Regions from separate parts of the Homo sapiens genome. Here regions 2, 3 and 4 are each linked to region 1. Evidence: promoter capture Hi-C in 16 types of primary human blood cells and fetal thymus (Javierre and others, 2016). All regions are on one chromosome and are shown on one strand. Each heading gives the region's core, a stretch centred on a gene start or on the middle of the fragment in contact. The rest is flanking DNA. Distances are from core to core; before and after follow the strand shown. Region 1 holds the start of ACVR1C (activin A receptor type 1C). Region 2 has its middle 25 kb from the start of ERMN. Region 3 overlaps GALNT5 (polypeptide N-acetylgalactosaminyltransferase 5). Region 4 overlaps GALNT5 (polypeptide N-acetylgalactosaminyltransferase 5).

Region 1 (2,700 bases), core at 172-2,671:
TGTCCTAGCAGTTTCTTGCCTTTTTAAAAAAGCATCTGTTTTGTGGGTGTCTGAAAGGGCTCAGATTTGTCCCACATCTCCAGTTTTTTGTTTGTTTGGATCCAGGATAAAACAAGAACAAAGTTTTTTTGTGCTTAGGAATATAAGATGGTGGCAGAAAAGATCCTCAGGATGCCACCCACATCTCAAAGTCCAACAACCATCTCATCTCCCATACTGTGATCCTTTGATAATAAAGTCAATTACATACAACATTTCACCATAGGTCTTTCATAGAACTTAGAACACCTAGCATATAATTTAGTCCTGAGCTAGGTGAAGAAGCAAGAAATGTTTTACTCTAAAGCAATTTTTATGACGCTATCACTTTTCAAGGAACCCCCAACAGTAGTAATAACACCAGTATTGTATTCTTGCTTTTTCGCGTTGTTCAGATTGAAATAATCCCATTCACTTTAATGTTCAGGCTCCATAGGTGAATTGAATTTAATTTCTATAAATTGGTAATGTTGCCGTTGTCCTTATATTTTCAGGCACAATCCAGGCCTTATATTTTCAGGCACCCGTTTGACAGTTAGCCTCTAGGGATTAAACAATACTCAAACAAGTTTTTCATATACTACTTTAAACAATTCTTCCCCTTCCCTTAATCCGTGTGTGTGTGTGTGTGTGTGTGTGTGTGTGTGTGTGTGTGTGTATGTTCCCTTAGTTCTTCAATTGCTGAAGTTGTAGCTGCCGAAATTATCTTCCATAGGTGAGGTCTTTTACCACCAGACGTGGGTCACACATTGTAGATGGCCACATCACCTGGCGCAGGTGGTCCAGCTTTGGTCGCCATTCATAGAGGGAAGGGTTCCCAAAAGGCACCCAAGAAGAGATGAAGTTTGTTAAACCAAAGCTTATAGGTCCAGAAGGCAGTCGGACAACTGGTCATTTCCAGGGATGAACAGAGAGGGCGCCCTTCCCCAGAGGCACAAATGGCCAGGACGCAGGGGTGGGACAAGCCAGTAGGAAGCCCGCGGGGCTCTCACAGCGCAACCTGGTTGGACTTAAGGACCCTGGACAACAAACGTCAGGAGAGCTAGGAGGCTGGCTCTTCTGCGGGAGGTTATAGAGCGGATCACCTGGGCGCAATCGCCGCGTAGTTGAAGTTTCCCTAAAGTCTCAGTGGGGCTTTTCCTCCCGTGAGAAGCCCCATTCCTGAGTATCTAGTCCCGGAGGCTCCGCACTGCTTCCCCACGCCCCCTCTTTCTTCGCCCCAGCTCTGGGCGATCTCACTGCCGGGCACAGGGCCGCCTTTGCCTGCCTGCCCTGCAGCAGCAGGCCCGGGCGGCTGCGAGAGGGCGCAGGGGGCGGAGGCGCGGCAGGGGCGGGCTCTGCCGCCCGCCCCACCACCCGCTCCCCGCCCGGCTGCGGGGCCAGTGGCAGGAGCGCCGCGCACCGCCAGCCGCAGGGGGCGTGGGATGGGGGCGGCCGGGGAGGGGGGCGCCCACACTGACTAGAGCCAACCGCGCACTTCAAAAGGGTGTCGGTGCCGCGCTCCCCTCCCGCGGCCCGGGAACTTCAAAGCGGGCCGTGCTGCCCCGGCTGCCTCGCTCTGCTCTGGGGCCTCGCAGCCCCGGCGCGGCCGCCTGGTGGCGATGACCCGGGCGCTCTGCTCAGCGCTCCGCCAGGCTCTCCTGCTGCTCGCAGCGGCCGCCGAGCTCTCGCCAGGTACGGTGCTGGTTTCTCTCCCGACGCCCGCGAGGGTGGGAGCTGGGAGGAGGTCTGCGGGTGAGCACGGGGGTGGGGGACAGGGGGTGCTCCGAGCAAACTGACCTTCGGGGCGGACAGGGAAGCGCCAGTCGGATTGAGGGGGCGCGGGATAGGGTGCAGCGTGGGCACCTGACGTCTGGCAGCCGTAGGGGTAGACAGGTGTGTTGGGGACGAAGCCGCCCGGAAGAGGGAAAAGGCAGCAGGGACGTGGGGGAATAAGTAGTAGGGGTGAGGTGGGTGACTAATTTGTGGGCAGTTTGCAGCGGAGAAAATAGGAGAGCGTTTGTGGGTGCGCGCATGGCTGGGAGCTGGGTTCACCCTGCAGGGACCTGGAGGGCTGCAGGTATGCGTCGGACGCGCTCTGTGCTAAGCCCCTGAGAGCTGCTCAAGGATGGTGGCATGGTGGTGGTGGGAGGTGGTGATTTAGTCTGAGTTTTAGGAGGCGGGGAATACCCCAAAAGCCGCAGATGCCAAGCTATGGAGGCGAGAGTGGGAGCTTAAATCTGTGTGGTTTGCAACGCACATTGCTTTCGAGGTACGATCTTTACTCAGAGTTCCTGGGGAAAAAAATTCTGGCAAGCGCCCCAGAGTTTATAACAGGTCTGTGCCTTGATAGGCTAAATAGAGCCCTCTACCCAATCTAGAAGCCAGACGTTTCTTTATAATGTTTACTAGAAAGTGGGGCAAATGCATCTTTGGTAAAATCATAATATGCTGTGACTAAAAGCCCTTTACCTCGAAAACTATTTTCATTACATTGTCCTGGATTATGCAGAGGAGGAGCAGATTCTTTGCTAACTCATTCTTTAAAAATTTCTATCAGACATTGAAGACATTTGCACATAAAAATCTGGTGTTTTCCCATAGAGCTGTGTTTTGTCCGAAGCTGATTTTGATGCATTTTGTTTTCCCAGATGACAATCTGTTTGACATTAATAGCTATAT
Region 2 (2,700 bases), core at 31-2,530, 280 kb after region 1:
TAGAAGCCAGTGTAGGGTTAATTGGCTGAATTTTGGTACCATTGTGTCTTGGGGAATTGTGGATGCCCAAGGATATGTTGTGGGGAGGGGAGAAATGGCCAGCCAGTGGAGTAGTTAGAATACATACAACATTTATCAATTAACTTCACCGTCTTATACAACATTATCAATTAAGTTCACCGCCTGCTCCTCCGTCAGTGGAGCAGTTAGAATACACACAACATTTATCAATTAAGTTCACTGTCGTATACAGGTACAGTTTGTTTGTGGCACCCCAAAACAATTACAATAGTAACATCAAAGATCAGTGATTGTCCAAGTGTGGTGGTGCATACCCTGTGGTCCTAGTTACTCTGGAAGCTGAGGCAGGAGGATCATTTGAGCCCAGGCGGTTGAGGCTGCAGTGAGCTGTGATTGTGCAACTGCACTTCAGCCTGGGTGAGAGAGTGAGACCCTGTCTCAAGTTTTCAAAAAAAAAAAAAGCAAACAAACAGTCAAAAAAGATCACTGATCACCATAACGGATATAATAATAATGAAAAACTTTGAAATATTGCAAGAAGTACCAAAGTATGACACAGAGGCAAGATATGAAGTGAGAACAGTTGTTAAAGAGGTGCTGATAGACTCGCTCCATGCAGAATTTTCCCAAACCTTCAATTTCTAAGAAATATCTGCAAAGAGCAATACAATGAGGAACAATAAAACAAGGTACACCTGCATGAAGCAACAGCAGTAGCATTTGAACGTTGGAGTTGTTTTATCATCAAAAGCTGCCAGAGATGATATTTTACAGCTGTTAAGAGTCAAGTATCTGATTGGACAGATGAGGAAGAATAGTGGCTTCCTAGAGCAAGTGATAAGCTAATATTAAAGGCAAGTTAATATTTCTTTACTACTCTAAAGCTTTCTTAAGATTAGCTTTTTGAATAACACCATTGTGGAGCTGGTTGGTATAATAGAAACAAATGGATTTTCTCATCCTACAGAGTTGACTTTTAACCACACTCTGCCCTTCACTAGTTCCATGACCTTGAGCAACTTATTTAACTTTCTAATCTCAGGTTTCCTACTCCATATGATACAGTTAATAAGACCTATCTTATTGGGCTGCTTGGAGGATGATGAGAGAATTCATATATAAAGGGAAAATCAGGTTTTGGCTTTTCCCAGATTCCTTCTTGAGGGCAGATTAGATAGAAGACTGGTTGAATGTTTGAACCATCAGTTGGCAGTCAGCCAGCCTGATATTCAAAAGGTTCAAAATCTAGGCTCCAGTGGACAACCTAGCAAGCCAGACAAATGTTAGAATTTTGGATTCTAGCCAATTGTGTATGTATATGTATGTGCTTGTCAGTCATCTGTGTTACTTTTTAATTAAGGACTTTAACACCAAGAGTCAGAGATAAAGGAAAAGTATAGAACAGGTTGAGAGGATTACATAGATTTAGAGAAGATGCTAATCAAATGGAATTGGTGTGGGTTCTACAAACACAGCTTAAAGGGCAGAAAATTTTAAATCTAGTGTTAACTTGCCTACTTCTGCAGACTTTGGGTTCCTCTTTAGATACTGTAATGGTAAATAATGTTTCTCATGAATATTGGAATGCCTCACTCAAGAATTCTGGAAACATTTTGCGTACTGTATTAAGCTTAGGACTTTGAACAACTTTCTTTGTGATCAGAAGGTAAAGATATTATTTTCCCCTTCCTATTGGTTATATAGAATGTAAGCTCTTCAGACATTAAAATGTCAAGAACCAACAGGCAGAGAAAATGGATGTGGATAAGATCCCTGAAGAGAAATGTCAAAAGTCCTCATCTCATGACTATTTGTAAAGACTCTCTTTATAGGATGTGTGTTGTCATGGCATTGGAGAGCAGGGACTGAACTGGGAAAAAATTAAAGACAATTATAGTGTGGTAAAGGGACTTAGCATATATAAGCTATGGAGAAAAGTGCAATTCCTTTATCTGGTCTTGGACATCACACAGCCAGCTTACAAGATGCTGGCAGACATTATGGAAATGACAAATAGCTAAAGATTCTGTGATTCAGACTGGTCGCCACATTATCTGAGCTATAACTTCAGAGTTGAGAGGGAAATTGGGTGGAAATTGCTCTGGTAGTATTAACAGCTGGAGGTACTTTGAGAAGAGCAGGGGAGGCACACATATATCACCCACAAACATTTTTGACACACCTAAATGTCAATTCAGCACATTTGAATATTTACTTAAAAACACTTGTGCACTCAGCCTTCTAATAGATGCTGTAGAGCATATAAAGAAGGTAGATATTACCCCTAACCTAGAGGAAATAAAAGTCAGATATCAAATGCAAACTTTCTTTTTATTATTTACTAGGGAATCTTTTAAAACTTCTGTGTGAGAGGCTTCAAGAATCAGGCTTAGGAACCTGTAAAGCACAAATTTTTCAGAGACTTATTTTTTAATAATAATTAATAAAAATATAACTTCATTGATAATAGGCAAATAGATTAAAATGTGTATATTACATTATCGAATGTTTCCTCAGTCTTTCATATAATAACTTCATAATTTTTGCCAAACCTCAAACCACCTGTAATACATTTAGTTATTATCTAAAACAAATTATTTCTTTTTATTTCAATTAATTCATTTGAAAAAGAAATGGGAGGCAGGAGAATCGCTTGAACTCAGGAGGCGGAGGTCGCAG
Region 3 (2,500 bases), core at 1-2,500, 330 kb after region 1:
ACCTGTGTGATCTGGCTCCTTCCTTCCTCTTCACCTTCATCTGGTGCCATTCTTCCCTCCTTCACACCCTGACAACATTCGTCTTCTTTCCAGTGCTTGGATGGAGAACACTCACCTGTCTTAGGGCTTTACGTGACCTTTACCCTCTGCCTAGCACTCTTCTTTAGAGCTTGGCTGACTGACACTTAGTGTTTTAGGCCTGAGTTACAAAGTCTCCTTCTCAGAGAGGATTTCTCAGCCACTCTAACTGAGGAGTCATCAACTGTGGCCTGTTCCCTAAATGAGAGCTATTATATTTTGTATTTACACTTGACTTGCTTATTTGTTTATAATCTTTCTTCTCTACCCAAATTAAGCTCCACAAGGAAGGAACCAAGTCTACTTCATTCATCACCCTGTAATCCAAGTCTGAAATACTCCCAGATCTACGGATACTCAATAGATATCTGTTGAGTTAATCAATGAACATGACCACTTGGTAGCCTTCCTCAAGTTTACCTATATTTAATTCTCAGCCATGCTTTGTCCCATCTTTGCTCATACTTGGTGTTTATTTATAATGTAATTACTCATTCTTTCCACACATTTTTGAAAGAGATTTTGTGTTTTGTTTTTATGGAGTAAGATTTTAAATTGCCACTTGAACTTACCACACCACTAGCTCTCACAATGGGAGCCCTTAAGTCAGGAAAGACATTCTCCAAGTACCATTTGAAACTTTTGCACTTCAGTTTCTTTCGCAGCTCCCTTTGCTGGGTGAGGTTGCCAACATCTAGCCCTTGGTCGATGAGGTGGTCTCCGTGGCCATAGAACAGCTCCTTATACTCATCCAGCCAGACCTCGGCAACCCGCACCAAGTTCCGCTCCACTGTCTTCATCCGGTCTTTGGGGAAGGAATATGGATTGTCATTTCTGAATATATGGCCCACTCGGGAGCAGGGAATGATCTCAATTTCACCACCACACATCCACACCTGGAAGAATTTGATGATAAGCATCAATTATCAAATGATTATCCACAAATCATCGGCACTTAACAATGACAAGAAACCACCTTGTTTCCCCCTACCTGAAGTAATACTCAACTTCAAAAACACTTTTGCAATAGAAAATCAAACTCAACAGGCTTATTTAATTTTGTGTATTGCTGTGGATCATTTTAGGATTAGTAAAATGTAATTTTTTCTTTCCTAACTTTCAATGTAAGTTTTTTTTAATTTGTAAATAAATCTTCACAGAATCCCATTTTGTAAAACATGAGTTCTTGTTTTGATTGAATCAGGGAAAGAAGTATAGATGTCCATTTGTTCACGTTCCTCTACTCTCATTTTTGGGAAGAACCAAAAGGCTTGTGGAACACAACTCAAAACCATCCTTCATGATCAGCAGCTCCAAAATTACACCCTTTTACATACATACAGAACACCCACCCAATAGGAAAGCAATTACTTTTTGGACACTCTCTACTACTGCTGTTGCCAAGGCTTTCTCAGAAGTTAATCAATGATTGTATAATAGATTGTATAAAGTGCCCAAAGGAGCTGTACTATAAGGCACACCTGACCTGTTGGTGACCTGCTTTAGAGGTATTTTAATGTACTTCTGTCATTTGTGTTCTCTAAGATGATCCATTACAGATTGAGTCTATTCCTTCCAACATTCTAGACAGATGTTCCAGGAGAGTTATTTTGTAGCACGTATGACTCCCACAGCATTTACTCTGAGTGGCAGAAAGTCATTTCCCCCATATTTATAAGCAGAAATGGTGTTGTGAAATATTAGGGAATGCTAATAAATTTTATGACAGCAATTGATTCTTCCAAATTCAATCTGAGATATGAAAAAATTAATCCAGAGACCCTAAAATTTCTGTGAAATTTCCTCTCAGTGGCAGTCACATACCTGATTATGGTAGTAAAATCAAACCATTTAAAATTGATTAACTCATTATCGTAAAGAAAAGTTGGGAAACACCTGGTAATACCTTGAATGAGAGCTCCATATTTTCCCCACCCCAAACATCAAGGCCAGGGTCGTATGTTCCAAGTTCAAAAAAGTAACTTTTGTCAATAGAAAACAATCCACCAGCCATGACAGGGCACCTACAAAAAGAAAAGTTTGTTTTTTAAACTTGCATCTCATGAAAGCTCGACTTTTAGAGTTGTTCCTCTGTACATCTGTACGGGAGGTAGGAGGCTTTTCAGAATAGCTACCTGATGCAGGGAAGCCCTGGGATGGAGTCACAAATAGGGCTTAAGTGATGCGATCCCTGGATCATGGTGGCAGAGCTAGATTAGGTTCAGCAAAGATGCATCCTGGAACTAGTATTATTTGTCCTTTATACTGTGACACAAACTGTCCAGGAATGTTATTTTTAACACTTATTCAGGGCTAAGGGAGTATCAGGCACTATTGTAAGTATTATATATATATTCCAGCCCAGACTTCACAAAAAATCTTGTGTGTGCAATTATTAAGAATCTGCAACACTGGATGTGAG
Region 4 (2,700 bases), core at 38-2,537, 360 kb after region 1:
ATTCCTTTAGTTCCTATCTTAAATATTCCCTTCATAGAGATGCCGTCTCTGACAACGCTTTCACATTTTTTTTTTTTTTGAGACAGAGTCTGGGCTGGAGTGGAGTGGCGTGATCACTGCTCACTGCAGGCTCCGCCTCCCGGGTTCACGCCATTCTCCTACTTCAGCCTCCTGAGTAGCTGGGACTACAGGCACCTGCCACCACGCCTGGCTAATTTTTGTGTATTTTTAGTAGAGACGGGGTTTCACCATATTAGCCAGGATGGTCTCGATCTCCTGACCTTGTGATCCACCCGCCTCAGCCTCCCAAAGTGCTGGGTTTACAGGCGTGAGCCACTGCACCTGGCCTACCCTCTCAAAATTAACTATTCTTTTATTATTCTCTATTATTGTGTTTCTGTCACAGCATTCATCTATCAATCTTATTTCCTTATCTTCTGCATCCAAAATTTTCTGAGGGTAGGACAAATCTGCCTTGCTTACTACAGTACCACAAGCTTCCAGCACAGTTACACAATAAATATTTGATAAATATGTATTGAATGCATGAATGAATGGATGGAGATGAGATGGAACTTAAAGCTTAAATAGTGGAAGAAATATTTCCCTTTGAGATAGAAAGTACAAAAAGGTGGTAACGTATACAAATATATTTATGCACATGGGATGAGAAGTTGAAAATATTCATAGCTCATACTGGAGGAAGGGTTATCTGTTAATGTAATAGGCTAGGGGCTTGAGGAGAATGGAGAATATTTTGGACAGATACTATGGGCAATGGGAGAGAATGCTGGCCAGCTAGCTAGGATTTCAGAGGGGCAGTGAGCACTTTCCTGAAACTGGAGATGCCAAAATTTTATGAAATTTCAATATATGATTTGCTCCACCAGTGCCTGCCAGCCTGCGTGTAAGAAGAGATAAAGCAAATTGCTGGATTAATATGAGTCTAAGGGATATCAGAGCACATGAGGTAGAAAGAGAATGGGTAGTGAGGTTTGAGGGGACTGGTGTAAGGTGGTTGAATGTTCCGGCATGGGCTCTGGGTCAGGGAAAGAGGAAGTAAAGCTAAGGGGAGTTTAATAGCCTGAGTGAAAGGGAGGGTACAGAAGAAAACAGCTACAGCCTATGACTTCCTCATCTCTAACTTTATAATATAAATTAATGAGAAATTCACATTTCACAGTTACATTTTTTTTAATGGTATTTGGTGCTGAAAAAAAAATCAAATCAGTTCTGAAAAGAAAGGATCAATTACACAAATTCGGCATAAACCAACAAGCCCGGCTGTGAAGTCCTGAGAGTTGCTTTATGGTTAAAATTTGGTTGGTCTGAGAAACATCCAGTGACAAAAGGAATTGTATCAGGAGGAGTTAACTAAGCAGGCTCATGCAAATGACTCTTCCTATATTTTAAATTAGTAGAGTTTTTGTCCTTTTTAGAAGGAAGTTCTAAAAAGTGCTAGACAGTCTAAAATTGGAGGTAAGAAAAATTCTCAGAAATTTGAGAGATTTGGGGAAGACACCTCTAATCACCAAATATCTAATCCTCTATTCCCCCGATTATGTCATGGTGCCTTAATTTCACTATTAGTACCCTACATGGGCAGATCATGAGAGATTCCACTAGATGCTAATATCCCAGCAAATAAGTAGTACCTCTGCCAATTGTTGACAAATATATATCTTAGATGTGTTTAAAGAATTACAATGAAGAAATTCTGTGGAAGATTATATGGTACAGATCATATTAGTGCCTGGTAAAAGCAATATTACAGGATGGGAAAGAGGGACCCAAAAGAGATGCCTGAGATTTCCAATACAAAGTTTCAGGGTGTGCCTTGATTTGGGGTGACTGACATGTCAAGGCACTCTGACATTTACAGAGACCTGTTCTCCTGCATTACTAAACAGATTAAACATGTTTCCGGGTATCTAGCAAAACTAGTGTGCTTGTTTTGTTCAAAGGAACAGTGGGAAACCCCCGCAAAGCTTTCAGCATTTTAAACTCTTACTCTAGTCTTTCATACTGGAAGAAAGGTTACTTGCTAATGTAATAGGGTAGGGGCTTGAGGAGAATGGAGAATATTCTGGGCAGACACTATGTCATCTAGTTGGCATAGGTTGTAAAAACCATTTCAAGTTATCCTACACCAACCTAATTCAAGCAAGTTTCCTTTATTTCAGTTTTTCCTTAATTTCTGCCTATATCATGGGAGGAGAAATTGCTGCTAAAGTCTAATTTGAATGCCAGATATTTCTAGGTTTGTAACTTTTTTGAGGCTAAGAAATCACATTTATATTCTATATGCCTATTTATTATACAAATTAGGTATTTAGAGTCTACTGGTCCCATGCTATACTTAAAAAATTAATCCAATCTCTTTGTCTTGGGGGGGAATCTAGGCTTAGATTACTGCAGCCAATCCAAGTTCTAAAAACAAATGGGGCCTCTAATGTGGGGAGTTTCACTATCCTGCACTTAGCTGACATACTACTGTGGTGGACAGAAAGACTCTGGACTTGAGAAAGATGACAAGAGACTAAGTTTTTAGTTCATTCTAGCATTTATTGGCCCTATGGCCATGGGCAAGTCAGTTAGGCCCCTAGAACCTTAGTTTCCTCACTTTTAGGATGAAGATTACAATGCCTTCATCACAGAACAGTGGTGAAGATTTGATGAGATAATGGATGTAAAAATATT

The links. The method cuts DNA at HindIII sites, captures the fragments that hold promoters and counts their contacts. A CHiCAGO score of 5 or more calls a contact.
Region 2: a fragment that was not itself captured here is called in contact with the fragment with the promoter of ACVR1C in region 1 in 1 of 17 cell types (total CD8 T cells); the score reaches 5.4 in total CD8 T cells.
Region 3: a contact is called between a fragment that was not itself captured here and the fragment with the promoter of ACVR1C in region 1, in 11 of 17 cell types (activated CD4 T cells, naive CD4 T cells, total CD8 T cells and 8 more). The highest score is 12.5, in activated CD4 T cells.
Region 4: a contact is called between a fragment that was not itself captured here and the fragment with the promoter of ACVR1C in region 1, in 1 of 17 cell types (activated CD4 T cells). The highest score is 5.6, in activated CD4 T cells.

The regions. Positions count from the first base shown.
Region 1 is chr2:157,627,585-157,630,284 of GRCh38, reverse strand. ACVR1C (activin A receptor type 1C) reads left to right here and starts at 1,421. Exons shown (of 9, transcript NM_145259.3): 1 at 1,421-1,713. The coding sequence starts at 1,641. RefSeq lists a silencer at 1,477-1,706. The HindIII fragment of the contact is 11,498 bases long and covers 901-2,700 here.
Region 2 is chr2:157,349,662-157,352,361 of GRCh38, reverse strand. No RefSeq gene overlaps it. Among named protein-coding and RNA genes, the nearest start is that of ERMN, 25 kb to the right of the region's middle. The HindIII fragment of the contact is 746 bases long and covers 908-1,653 here.
Region 3 is chr2:157,299,150-157,301,649 of GRCh38, reverse strand. GALNT5 (polypeptide N-acetylgalactosaminyltransferase 5) reads right to left here. Exons shown (of 10, transcript NM_014568.3): 6 at 1,985-2,102; 7 at 651-974. It also overlaps the pseudogene RN7SKP281. Among named protein-coding and RNA genes, the nearest start is that of ERMN, 25 kb to the left of the region's middle. The HindIII fragment of the contact is 4,525 bases long and covers 1-2,500 here.
Region 4 is chr2:157,268,482-157,271,181 of GRCh38, reverse strand. All of the region lies in intron 1 of GALNT5 (polypeptide N-acetylgalactosaminyltransferase 5), which reads right to left. Among named protein-coding and RNA genes, the nearest start is that of GALNT5, 12 kb to the right of the region's middle. The HindIII fragment of the contact is 1,406 bases long and covers 585-1,990 here.